Regions from separate parts of the Homo sapiens genome. Here region 2 is linked to region 1. Evidence: promoter capture Hi-C in 16 types of primary human blood cells and fetal thymus (Javierre and others, 2016). All regions are on one chromosome and are shown on one strand. The core of a region is centred on a gene start or on the middle of the fragment in contact, and the rest is flanking DNA. Distances in the headings are between cores, read along the strand shown.

The links. Contacts are between HindIII fragments. The CHiCAGO score rates a contact against its expected background, and 5 or more counts as called.
Region 2: a contact is called between a fragment that was not itself captured here and the fragment with the promoter of PHC1 in region 1, in 2 of 17 cell types (naive CD8 T cells and fetal thymus). The highest score is 5.6, in naive CD8 T cells.

The regions. Positions count from the first base shown.
Region 1 is chr12:8,912,727-8,919,037 of GRCh38, forward strand. PHC1 (polyhomeotic homolog 1) reads left to right here and starts at 1,783. Exons shown (of 15, transcript NM_004426.3): 1 at 1,783-2,101; 2 at 4,904-5,065. The coding sequence starts at 4,952. RefSeq lists silencers at 1,665-1,774, 1,825-1,874, 1,945-2,234. The HindIII fragment of the contact is 8,234 bases long and covers 861-6,311 here.
Region 2 is chr12:8,638,247-8,643,732 of GRCh38, forward strand. It overlaps the pseudogene HADHAP2. Among named protein-coding and RNA genes, the nearest start is that of MFAP5, 22 kb to the right of the region's middle. RefSeq lists enhancers at 1-720, 928-1,844. The HindIII fragment of the contact is 9,502 bases long and covers 1-5,486 here.

The DNA.
Region 1 (6,311 bases), core at 533-3,032:
TCTTGGTACACAAGTTCCATAGGCTATAGAAAAACAAGTCCATACCCTCTGATATCTGCATTCCTTATTCTTGTTATAGCTTACAAATCTTCTTTAGACACTTAACAGTGATAATTCTCCCAGGGAAACTAAGGAAGCACATGAGTCATGTTTCTTAACTTTAATGTTGTATAATCTGAAAATTATCTATAGATGCTTTTTTTTTCCATTGGTGCTAGAAAATTCCGCCTAGGCTCAATCGATATCCATTTCTAAACTTCTGCAAGAAAGCTTTAACTGCTTTGACATGCCAAAAATCCAGGTGTGAATTAAACAACGAATGCTTTACCTCGTTTTCACCACTAGTTCTACCAGTCAGAATCTTTTCAAATCATCCTCAGCCAGTGCCTGTCATCCACGGCCTGGTAACACACCCTTTCACCTCCTCATACCCCGTGTCTTCGCTTTTCCAGTCCTTTGGCTGCCCTCCGGTTTCTTCCCTCACATACCTGTCTGACTAGTTCCTAGAAGCCTGGCAGAAATTGTTCTCCGATTTTAATCTGGCTGCCACAAATGAAAGACCTTGGAGTCCAAATACTCCTCTCTCAAAGCAAAATCTAAATGGATATAATTTATAAGCAAAGATAACACTTCTGTTTTTTTCTCTATAAACAAACCATGCATGGGCTTTTAAAGGAGAAAAGGAAGAGTGGATTGACAGAGAAAATAACTGTTTAGGATAGAGGTTAGGAAAAGACTGAGAGCAAGAGAAAAGGCATCAATCCCAGTTGTTAATCCACGAGGCATCCCCCAGACCCTTCTGTAAAGGTTAATGAAGGCAGTAAGGCAGTTATCTTTGTTTCGTGCACTGATGCAATCCAAGCTTCCACGGTTTAGCACATAGTAGACGCTCTATAAATATTTATTGAATGTTGAACGATGAGAGAGTAATTAAAAACCGGTAAGTTGATATCATAAATACAACGACAACGGCTCCCCTATCAAATGTTTAGTGTTCCCAGAGACAGCCCCATTGTTCTACATCTCGTTATACTCTGGCCTTTTCCCGTTTTTGTCATTCGAACTCATATACATATTGAAATCGAAGCACACACAAATCCCTGAAATGACAAACTTAAATGCTATCCAAAGGAAGTTACATTAGGTTGCTGCTTTGAAAATGAAGTCAACTCCTAATGGGTTAGCTGTTTCTGCAGCATTCTTTCCCGCCTTCTTGGAGTTGAGGTGAGGGATTAAACAATCAACCTTCTCTCTCCTTTCTCTCATTCTCAAAGTTTTTCTCGCCTTTTCCTTCCTTTCCTTTGCTTCATTTCTTTTCCCAGTCTATCGTTTCTCTAGGGGTCGTTGCTTTGCTCTTTCTCCCTCTCTGTCTGTTGGTCCCTTTGATCCTTTCTTTCTACCCCTTATTCCCAGCAGCTCCAGAAAATACCTTCTTTCTCCCCGTCTCACGTCACTTCCCTCCCTTCTCCCATCTCCCTCTCCTCTCCGAGAGGTGCGTTCCCCACTAGAGGCCAGCACTTTCTTAGTTTCGTCCTTCCAACCGGCGAGCAGAACTCGGAGAGAAAGAAGGGGGTAAAAAAGAGGAGAAAGAGAGCAAGAGAGGAAAAAACCCCTGGGCCTGGAGCGCAGAGGCCCGGGAGCTGCGTCGCCATGGCAACGGGCGCCGGCAGGAAACGAGGGACGCGCGGGAGGGAGGGGGCGGAGGGCGCCGAGGGGAGGCGGAGGGACGGCGGGGGGGGGGTCCGGCTGCCCCGGAAGCACCTCCCCGCAGCCCCCTCCTCCAGCCCGGCCCGCAGCCCCTGGCCTGCGGCCCCCACCTTCTCGGCCGGGCAGGAAGTGACAGGCCCGGAGCGAGCCCCGGAGGCCTGGCTGAGCCGCGGCCGGGCCCGCACCCGGAGCGGCGGGAGGGGCGGGGAGCCGCGGTCGCGCCGGGCGCCTCCCACCCCGCCCTCGGCGCCCCCGCCCCTCCAGGAAGGGGAGGAGGCGAGGGGAGCCCGCCGCGGAGGCCGAGCGAGCCCCCAGCCCAGCCTGGCGACTGGGGACCCCGGCACATGAGGTGGACGCCCCCGGGGAAGACTTGGGTGCACAGCCAGGCGAGAAGGTAACCGGGCGACCGAGGGCCGGGGAGGGGCAGGACCTCTGGGGGCTTGGCTGCGCGGGGATGTATCCTCAGCCACCTCCATCTGTGTAACGCCCCAGGTACCTCCCCCAGTTGCTTTCCCTGCCTACCTCCGGCGCTGAGCTCTGCGGTCCTTCGGCTCTGCCTGTCCGAGTCTTCTGGCTATTCATTCTGCTGCGCTTCATGCTGTCTGTCCGTCACCCTAGCTGCCTCTGACTGCTCATTTTCTTATTCATTTTTCCTTCTCTGACTTTGGTCCTTCCAGCCGAGCATGCTGTCTAGTTATCTCCCTGCTTTCGTGGTCCGCTGGGTTCCTCAGCCTCCAGTTCCTTGACTTCTGCCTCTGCTCTCTGTATGCACATGTCCCAGCTCACTTGGGTCAGTTCATTCCCGGCGCACCACTGGATCCACCCCCTTCCCCCAGTGTATTTGATTTCTCTTTGAAACATCATTTTCATCAAGGTTCTATATAGAACGAGGACCCTTGGGCGTCTACTCCCTGTTCTCTTGATTATTACCGTGTCTTTGGCACAGTCTTCCCTGAACCACCCCCTTCTCCCGTCCCCCTTCCTATGTCCCATCCTTTCTGCATGATAAGAGTTTCGTGCTTAGGGATATTGACTTTCTCCAACTCTCGGCCCAATGCTAAGTCCACCTCAATGTCCCATTCTAACTCCCTTCGGTAGGTCTGTGCGCCTACCCAACCCCATGTATGCCCACATGCTACCTTTTAAGATGACCATGGCTTAGCTACTCTGGGGGCATCTGTGGATCAGCTTCTCACTGTCTTCCAGTTTAATTTGGAAAATTTTGATACCTGGTGCTGCCCAAACTGTTTGTTGTCTCCATTTTTTATATTTAATCTTGTAGTCATAATGTTGATCACAAATGAATACATTTATGTGCCCGGGATCCAGGAATCCTGGTTTTGGTGGCAGTTTCCCTTGATTTTATTGAGACTTTTAAGTTGGTCCCTTTACATTTTTATTTCTAGTTCACAATCCAAAAAAAATTATTAATCAGAATTCAGGTTTGGGAAGACGAGGGGTCATACGGTTTGTATTTTCACATGTGAATGTAGGAATTATGTTCTCTATACCTAGCAAAGGGGTCTCGTGTCTCTGAGTCCAGTGAACTAAATCCAGTAATCTATAAAACTGTGCCGTGCTGCCTCTAATCCTTACCCACTTTTTTTCTTCACATGCTGATAATGAGGATTCATGGGTCTGTATCTGTTTAGTGCTTTGATATTTTGGCAAAAGATGTGGGGAGAAGGTAGACTAGTTGAAGCTGATATGATTTTTCCTATGTACTTTTTGGGTAATATACATGTTTGCAGTGACATTTGCTAGTCCTAAATGAAACTAAAGACTGGGGGGGGATAATAGTGTGATTGGATGATACTGGGAATGAGATAATAAGAAATATCCTCAGCTTTATTGCCAAGGCCAAGCAGTTTGATACTTTGCTTGTTTGTTTGTTTTGGATGCAATCCCTAAGACCAGTCCATTCACCCTAATGAAACTGTTGACAACACTTAGCAGAAATTCTGGTTTGATGTTTATATTCTTAAGCCAGATAATATTTTGGTGACCTGATATTTCTAGTGGCCCAGTGCCTCAGAAGTAGAGAAAATAGTGTGTAGCTTAACAAAAGAGAAAAACAAAAAAAAAGAATGAGTAAAAACCTTATTGTCATTTAGTGCTGCTTTGGAAGAATATTTCTTCTTCTCATCTCCTGCCTCTTTGCTTGGTTCTTAGCAGTGTTTTCATATGTGTCTTTTTGCAAATGTAAGTGTAGTCCCCAGTGGGTAAATTCTGACATGTTAGTAGATTATAAAGTTGCATCTTACTTTCTTGAAGATTTTCATTGTGTGTATTTCTATGTTTCATACTCCGGAGTCATTTCTTAAAATGATATATTACATTCAGTATGAAGCCTCCTTTGCAGTGAGGAAACAGGTATAAGGAAGGAAAGCAACATGCCTGAGGTGTTATTAGTAGCCTGAGCTGGAACCAGGCAGCTATTTGGGCTATGTGGGCTGTAGGTGAGCTCTTCTGCTTCCTAGTTTTATGACCTTCCATGACCCACTGAATGTGTCTGTATCTTAAGGTCCTCCTCCATAAAATGAGGATAACTACTCACTATCATAGTGAATGACACTGCCTTAATTACAGTTTGGTTTGAAGAAGCATGTGTTAGTCCAAAGACTTGATACTTACTAGGGCAACTTCTTTAACCTCAGAAAACCTTATGTCTCAAATTGTAGAATGAGGATAACAGTGTTGACTTTACAGCACTACTATGAGAGAGATACAGCATAGGTGAAGTGCCTAGCCCAGTGAAAGGAGGCAACTAGTGGCTCTCCAGTATATGGTGACTCATTTGGATGATAACGATGCAGATGGAGACAAAAATGAGATAACCAAAACTTTTAAGTGGAAAGATTTTAAACTGTTAAAAAATGCTATGGGAATGTAAGGTAACTTTGGTATTGTAAGGTGCCATCTCACATTCTGGCCGTTTTATTTAATGACAGCCATGAGGGAATACGTAAAGGTTGTTTCTTTTGAGACTGCATAGCTTCAAAAGATGGTAGTATTGGGAAGACATGGTTGCAAGAGTGTATTGAAGATTTGGGAGTTTTAAGATGAGAAATCATGGCTTATGGAAGAGGAGGAAGATTCTTAGATACTTATGGATTTCCTGTGTTTTTGAATAATAACATGAGATAACAGCTTGGGATCAAGATATAAATTTTAACCTTTTACTGCTTCCCTCTAGGTCTTGAGTCAGACAGAGCACCAGCCTTGGGGACCCTGGACCACTATCATGGAGACTGAGAGCGAGCAGAACTCCAATTCCACCAATGGGAGTTCTAGCTCAGGGGGCAGCTCTCGGCCCCAGATAGCTCAAATGTCACTTTATGAACGACAAGCAGTGCAGGTGAGACTCAGCTCTGAGGGGCCATGGTCTGTGAGTCTTGGCTTGTGGTAGGCAGTGATGCTGGAAAATAATTGTACTCAGTTCTTTTTCAACAAACTGGGGAGAGTTGGGTTAGATGATGACTAAGCTGTCTTCCAGCTCTGAGAATCTTAGGAGTTTACAAATGTTTAGGCAAGCAAACAGTGAAATCTGGTCTTTCAAATAAGGATTTAAAAAACACATTCAGTCCATCTAGCTAGATTCTAACTAACCCTTTCTCATACTGGATTGCCAGGTTTTTAATCTTTGGCCATTCTTGTAAATCCCCTTGAGTAATAGAAGTATCATGGAACTCTTTAGAGATTTATTTTTAAACAAACAGCAAATTCCATGTTTTTATTAATTCTGTTAGGAAATGAGGTCTTTTAGCAAATATTTTGGTTACTAGAATAACTATACATATCATAAAAATAGTTCTAATTATTAAAGAATAAGAATACAGTAAAGTCCAGTTAGCACTAAAACCAAACTACTATTTTCATTTCATAAATCTGTATTAGCATACTGATATGTAAAAATGCCAATTAGTTGAATTCGTTGAAAATTTTACGTGAAGGAATCTTTAGAAGCCACTATTTATTTTTTCATTATTTCCAACCCATTAGGGCTGTATTACCTTTACTGTATACCTAAAATATACTTTTACATTTTCTTCTTTTTTTTTTGAGACAAGGTCTAGCTCTGTTGCCCTGGCTGGAGTGCAGTGGTGCGATCAGTGCTCACTGCAGCCTCAGACTCCCAGTTCTCCTATCTTATCCTCCTGACTAGCTGGGACTATAGGCACACTCCACCATGCCCAGCTTTTTTTCTTATTTTCTTTACATTAATCGGCATTTTGTTTATTTTCACCCGATCTAGTCTTTGCTATGGCATGTATTTCCAGCTCCCAATTGGAGAAACAAGTTTGTATAAATTGCACTGCTTTACTTTTCTTAACATCCTATGGAGAATAAACCATAGAATTACATTCACGCGTCACTTAATGACAGGAACGCGTTTTGAGAAATGTATTGTTGGACGATTTTGTAATTGCGTGACTGTCATAGAGCGCACTTACACACACCCAGATTATGTAGCCTACTCCGTACCTAGGTTATACAGTATAGGCTGTTACTCTGACCACTCCTGTGTATGTAGTCTGCCATTGACCAAACAGTGGATATGTGGTGCATGGCTGTAATTGTTTCTTCCGGTTTTTAAAGGACTA
Region 2 (5,486 bases), core at 2,305-4,804, 270 kb before region 1:
ATTAAAGCTCTTTCCCCAGAAGAAAAAAAAAAACTGATTAAACTCAGAGACTTCTAGGGACTGAATAGCCAGAAAAAAGAAACAAGCAATGACTGGGCTATTCTCTCTTTAGGGATGCTATTAGTTTGTACAATCAGAGGAGAAAGTCCATAAATAAGGGGTGCAGAAATGATAAGTGCTCTGGGACTGAGGAGAAGAAAGAACAGATATGGGAATGGGAGGAAAGAGCCCAGGATATCAGTGGAAAGTTCACTTGGCCAAAACTAGGCAGCAGATGTGTAGAGGAGAACTAAAGGCAGTGAGCAGATGTATGCCTTCCCTGAACAGGAGCATGATAAATTTATAGTATAATTTAAAGCATTACTTTATTTTTTATTATCAAAAATGATAAAAACCTGAAAAGAAAACAAGACAATGAATGTCATTGTAGGAGGCAAAAGGTGTTATTAAAAGCAGAAAGAAACAACTTGAGCAATAAAGTGACTCTAGGCCGGCCGCGGTGGCTCACGCCTGTAATCCCAGCACTGTGGGAGGCTGAGGCGGGAGGATCATGAGGTCAGGATTTCAAGACCAGCCTGACCAACACGGTGAAACCCCGTCTCTACTAAAAATACAAAAATTAGCCGGGCGTGGTGGTGCACGCCTGTAATCCCAGCTACTCAGGAGGCTGAGGCAGGAGAACTGCTTGAACCCGGGAGGCAGAGGTTGCAGTGAGCTGTGATTGTGCCATTGCACTCCAGCCTGGGTGACACAGCATCTCAAAAAAAAAAAAGAAGTGACTCTAATTTAATCTTCAAATGCAGAGGCCATGTCTTAGTTAACTTTGCATCCCAGCACTGCCCTGGGCACTTGGTGTTCAAAAGTTGTTTGTTGACTAAAGGATAATGACTCACTCACATTTACATAGGGCCTATGTGCCGGTGCTACCCTAAACCACTTAATTCATTTAATCTCGCAGTAGCCTTAAGGGTTTTGTATCACTGATCTCTTTTACAGATGAGAAAAGTGAGGCATAGAATGGTTTGAATCATAATGGTGGGGCGGAGGCTAAAGTAACTCCATCTTGGCTGCTAAAACACCACGTTGACTTCTGATTAACCCCCAGTTCCAGTAATACCTCTAAGATCTCTACTTTATCTACTGTTAAGAACACATATTTACCATAAGTCTAGCCCCTAGATTAAAACAACCTTGATGTTATCATAAACAGGCACTTACTATGAATCCTGCCCTTAAGCAAATTATAGGCTATGATTCAGGTAGCATTCTTGCCTTTCCCTGAGGGGTGGCCTTCAATTGTCCTACACAACCCTTCTGAAGCACGGATGCCCTTTCCCTATGGTATGTAAGCCCTGGGTCTGGGTTGGGGTAACAGCAAGGGGATCCACCATCTTGCAGATGCCTGGGACATGGCTTCTGCTTTTAAGTTCTTATTAAATGTTTTTTTTGCTGAGAAACTGGGCATGTCTGCCTCTTTATCTGGCCTTTCAGCTCCCTCAGCCTTTGGGGGTAGGTTTGCATAGGCCTCCTCCCCGTAGAAGAGGTGGAGTCAGGATTTGCACCCATATAGTCTAGCTCCAGAGTATGTGCTCTGACACATAGGCTATCCTTCCTGAAGGAGTCAGTCAAAGAAATCAGGATAAAGAGAAAGACTGATGAGCCAGTAAACACACTGATTCTCTACCCTTCCGAGAAGAGGAAAAATCGGAACCTCTTTGGCCTTTTCCAGGTTCTTGTTTCTGGCCAGATTCATAGCTAACAGCCACTGGCTGAGTCTCCACAGAATTCCTGGGGAGTGTATGTGATGTGTGAAAACAAAAGAGACACCTGTGCTCTGACTCAACTTGTTTGTTTTTGTGTTTGTTTGCTTGTGAGACAAGGCTCTCACACCTTTTGTTGCCCAGGGTGGCCTTGAACTCCTGGGCTCAAGGAGTCTTCCTGCTTCAGCCTGTGGAGTAGCTGGGATTATAGGCAGGAACCACCACACTAAGTTTCTCTGCCTCAGTTCTGAATAAGAGAGCACTTCACATCCAGTGGACATGAAAGCATTCTACACCTTGAGGTAAGCAAGAAAACAAGCAGGGCCATAGCCTCTAGTTCTAGTTTCCAAAATAAATAAAATCTTCAAGTCTCCTCCATAAGTTACTGACTCTGTCATGCAAACAACTGCACTCTGACTTTGCCAATGGCAATCTCTGAAGGTGGGTAATAATCTTTGAGGATATGAGAACCATATACAAAAAAAAAAAAATCGGACAGGTTGTGGTGGCTTATGCCTGTAATCCTAGCACTTTGGGAGGCCAAGGCAGGAGGATCACTTGAGGCCAGGAGTTCGAGATCAGCCTGGCCAAAATAACGAAACCCCAAAATACAAAAACAATGAGCTGGGCGTGGCGGTGCATGCCTGTAATCCCAGCTATTCAGGAGGCTGAAGCGTAAGAATCCCTTGAACCTGGGAGGCGGAGGTTGCACTAAGCCAAGATCACACCACTGCACCCCAGCCTGGGCCACAGAGTAAGACTCTGTCTCAAAAAAATAAAAAATAAAAAATAAAAAATCCCACCACGAACAGATAAACAGTAAGTCTAGTGACTTTAGGAATCTAATTTGTTTCTCTTTCAGTAGGTTGTATTTTTTATTCCAGTTTTTCTAAGGTGTAGCCTCCCAAACAAGCCTTTGGCAAGCAAGTAAACTACTCCTTTGTCTTGGAGTCTTCCTTTTGCAACTGGATTAACTTTTAGAACTTTTAGACCTTTGAGAAGTTTTAGAGTTTTAGAATTCAGGCGTGGGTCTGCCGCACCAAAACTGTGTGAACTTGGTCAGGTCTTATTAAACCTTTTTCTCTGTCTGAAAAATATGAATAATAATACTTCTGCTTCCCACCACACAGGGAATATGATGTTTGTTTAAAAAAAAAGCACAGAACACTTTATTAAAAAGTTGTTGTTGTTGTTGTTGTTTTAGTCTATTTTGTGTTATTGAGTCTGTCACCAACTGAGTAATTTATAAAGAAAAGAAATTTATTTCTCACAGTTCTGGAGGCTGAGAAGTCCAAGAACATGGTGCCATCATCTGATGAGAGTCATCCCATGGTGGAAGGACAGCAAGTGCAAGCAAACTGGTGAGGCAGAGAGAAGAAATCGGGCAAAACTCCCTTTTATTATAAACCCAGTCTCGTGATAACTAACCTACCCCTGCAATAACAGCAGCAGTAATCCATTTATGATCGATTTGCCATCACCTAATCACCTCTTTTCTTTTCTTTTCTTTTTTTTTTTTTTTTGAGATGGAGTCTTGCTCTGTCACCCAGGCTGGAGTACAGTGGTGCGATCTCGGCTCACTGCAAGCTCCGCCTCCCAGGTTCAAGCAATTCTCATGGCTCAGCCTCCTGAGTAGCTGGGATTACAGGCATCCACCACCACACCTAGCTAATTTTTGTATTTTCAGGAGAGACGGGGTTTCACCATATTGGCTGGAGTTGGCTGGTCTTGAACTCCTTACCTCAAGTGATCTTCCTGCCTCAGCCTCCCAAAGTGTCGAGATTACAGATGTGAGCCACTGCTCCCGGCCCTAATCATTTCTTCTTCTTTTTTTTAAGATAGAGTTTCGCTCTTGTTGCCCAGGGTGGAGTGCAATGGCACAATCGTGACTCACTGCAGCCTCCACCTCCTGGGTTCAAGCGATTCTCCTGCCTCAGCCTCCCAAGTAGCTGGAATATAGGCACCCACCCCTACGCCTGGCTAATTTTTTGTATTTTTAGTAGAGACAGGGTTTCGCCATGTTGGCCAGATTGGTCTCGAACTCCTGACCTCAGATTATCCCCCTGCCTCGGCCTCCCAAAGTGCTGGGATTATAGCATGCCCGACCCCTAATCACCTCTTAAAGACCCCACATCAATTAAAACTCAACATGAGTTTGGGAGGGGACAAACATTCAAACCATAACAATGCTGTCCTAGAGTTCCAAAGACCACATTTGGAATAATTCCACTTTTAAAAAAGTTTTACTTTTAAAAAATTGTTTTACAGACAGGATCTCACTCTGTCACCCAGGCTGTTGTACAGTGATACCATCATAGCTCACTGTAACCTCGGCCTCGTGGGCTCAAGCAATCCTCCTGCCTCAGCATACCCAGTAGCTGGGACTACAGGGGCAGCTACCATGCCTGGCTAGTATTTTAATTTTCTGTAGAGACAGTCTTGCTATGTTTCTCAGGCTAGTCTTGAACTCCTGCCTTGGTCTCCCAAAGCGTTGGGATTACAGATGTGAGCTACTGAGTCTGGCCAAAAAAAAAATTTTAATTACATTTAAATTAGGACCAGGAACAGCGGCTCATTCTTGTGATCTCAACACTTTGGGAGGCCGAGGTGGGAGAATCACTTGAGGCTGGGAGTTCAAGACTAGTCTGGGCAACATAGCCAGACCCCCATCTGTATGAGGAAAAAAAAAAGGTACATTTAAACACACTTTAAACAGTAGAGAAACTAGTATCTCTGGTATTGCACATTTTTTGCAAGTTTCCTACTCATTGGCTAGCCAGCAAGATTCATCTGTTTCGTTACAAGGGAAAGAATGGAAAAGCCAACCTACTCAAGAACAGTTTAACAGAAACCAATCAGCTTAAGTAGAAAAAAAAAAATCCTATAGTCTTATTAATTAATTAATAAGTCTTACTTAATAGTTAATAGTTAATAATACTTAATAGTTAATAGCTAATACTTAATAGTTAATAAGTCTTAATTAATAGTCTTACTAAACCTTTGAACACATAATCTTGTTAATTCACAGAACCACCCCTAAGGCAGGTATGTTGCCACCAATTTACAGCTGAGAAGCTACTTGCTTGGCATCATACCACTAGTGAGTGCCAAGTCTGGACTGGCACTGAAACAAAGACCAATTATTTGAAATTAAAATGAACAGGATAAGTGTCACTTTTTTTTTTTTTTTTTTTTTTTTTGAGACGGAGTCTCGCTCTGTCACCCAGGCTGGATGCAGTGGCGCCATCTCGGCTCACTGCAAGCTCCGCCTCCCGGGTTCACGCCGTTCTCCTGCCTCAGCCTCTCCGAGTAGCTGGGACTACAGGCGCCCGCCACCACGCCGGGCTAATTTTTTTTTAATTTTAGTAGAGACGGGGTTTCACCGTGGTCTCGATCTCCTGACCTCGTGATCCACCCGCCTCGGCCTCCCAAAGTGCTGGGATTACAAGCGTGAGCCACCGCGCCCGGCCAAGTGTCACTTTTATTGTACCTAGAACCATGTTGATTTGGGGATCTAGACATCCCATATATCAATGATGTAATAATTTTTTTTAGTTTCTACATGACAAGAGAGAAATTACTGCTACTACGTCCGGCTGATTTTTGTGTTTCTAGTAGAGATGGGGTTTCGCCATGTTGGCCAGGCTGGTTTCAAACTTCTGACCTCAGGTGATCTGCCTGCCTCACCTTCCCAAAGTGCTGGGATTACAGGTGTGAGCCACCGCG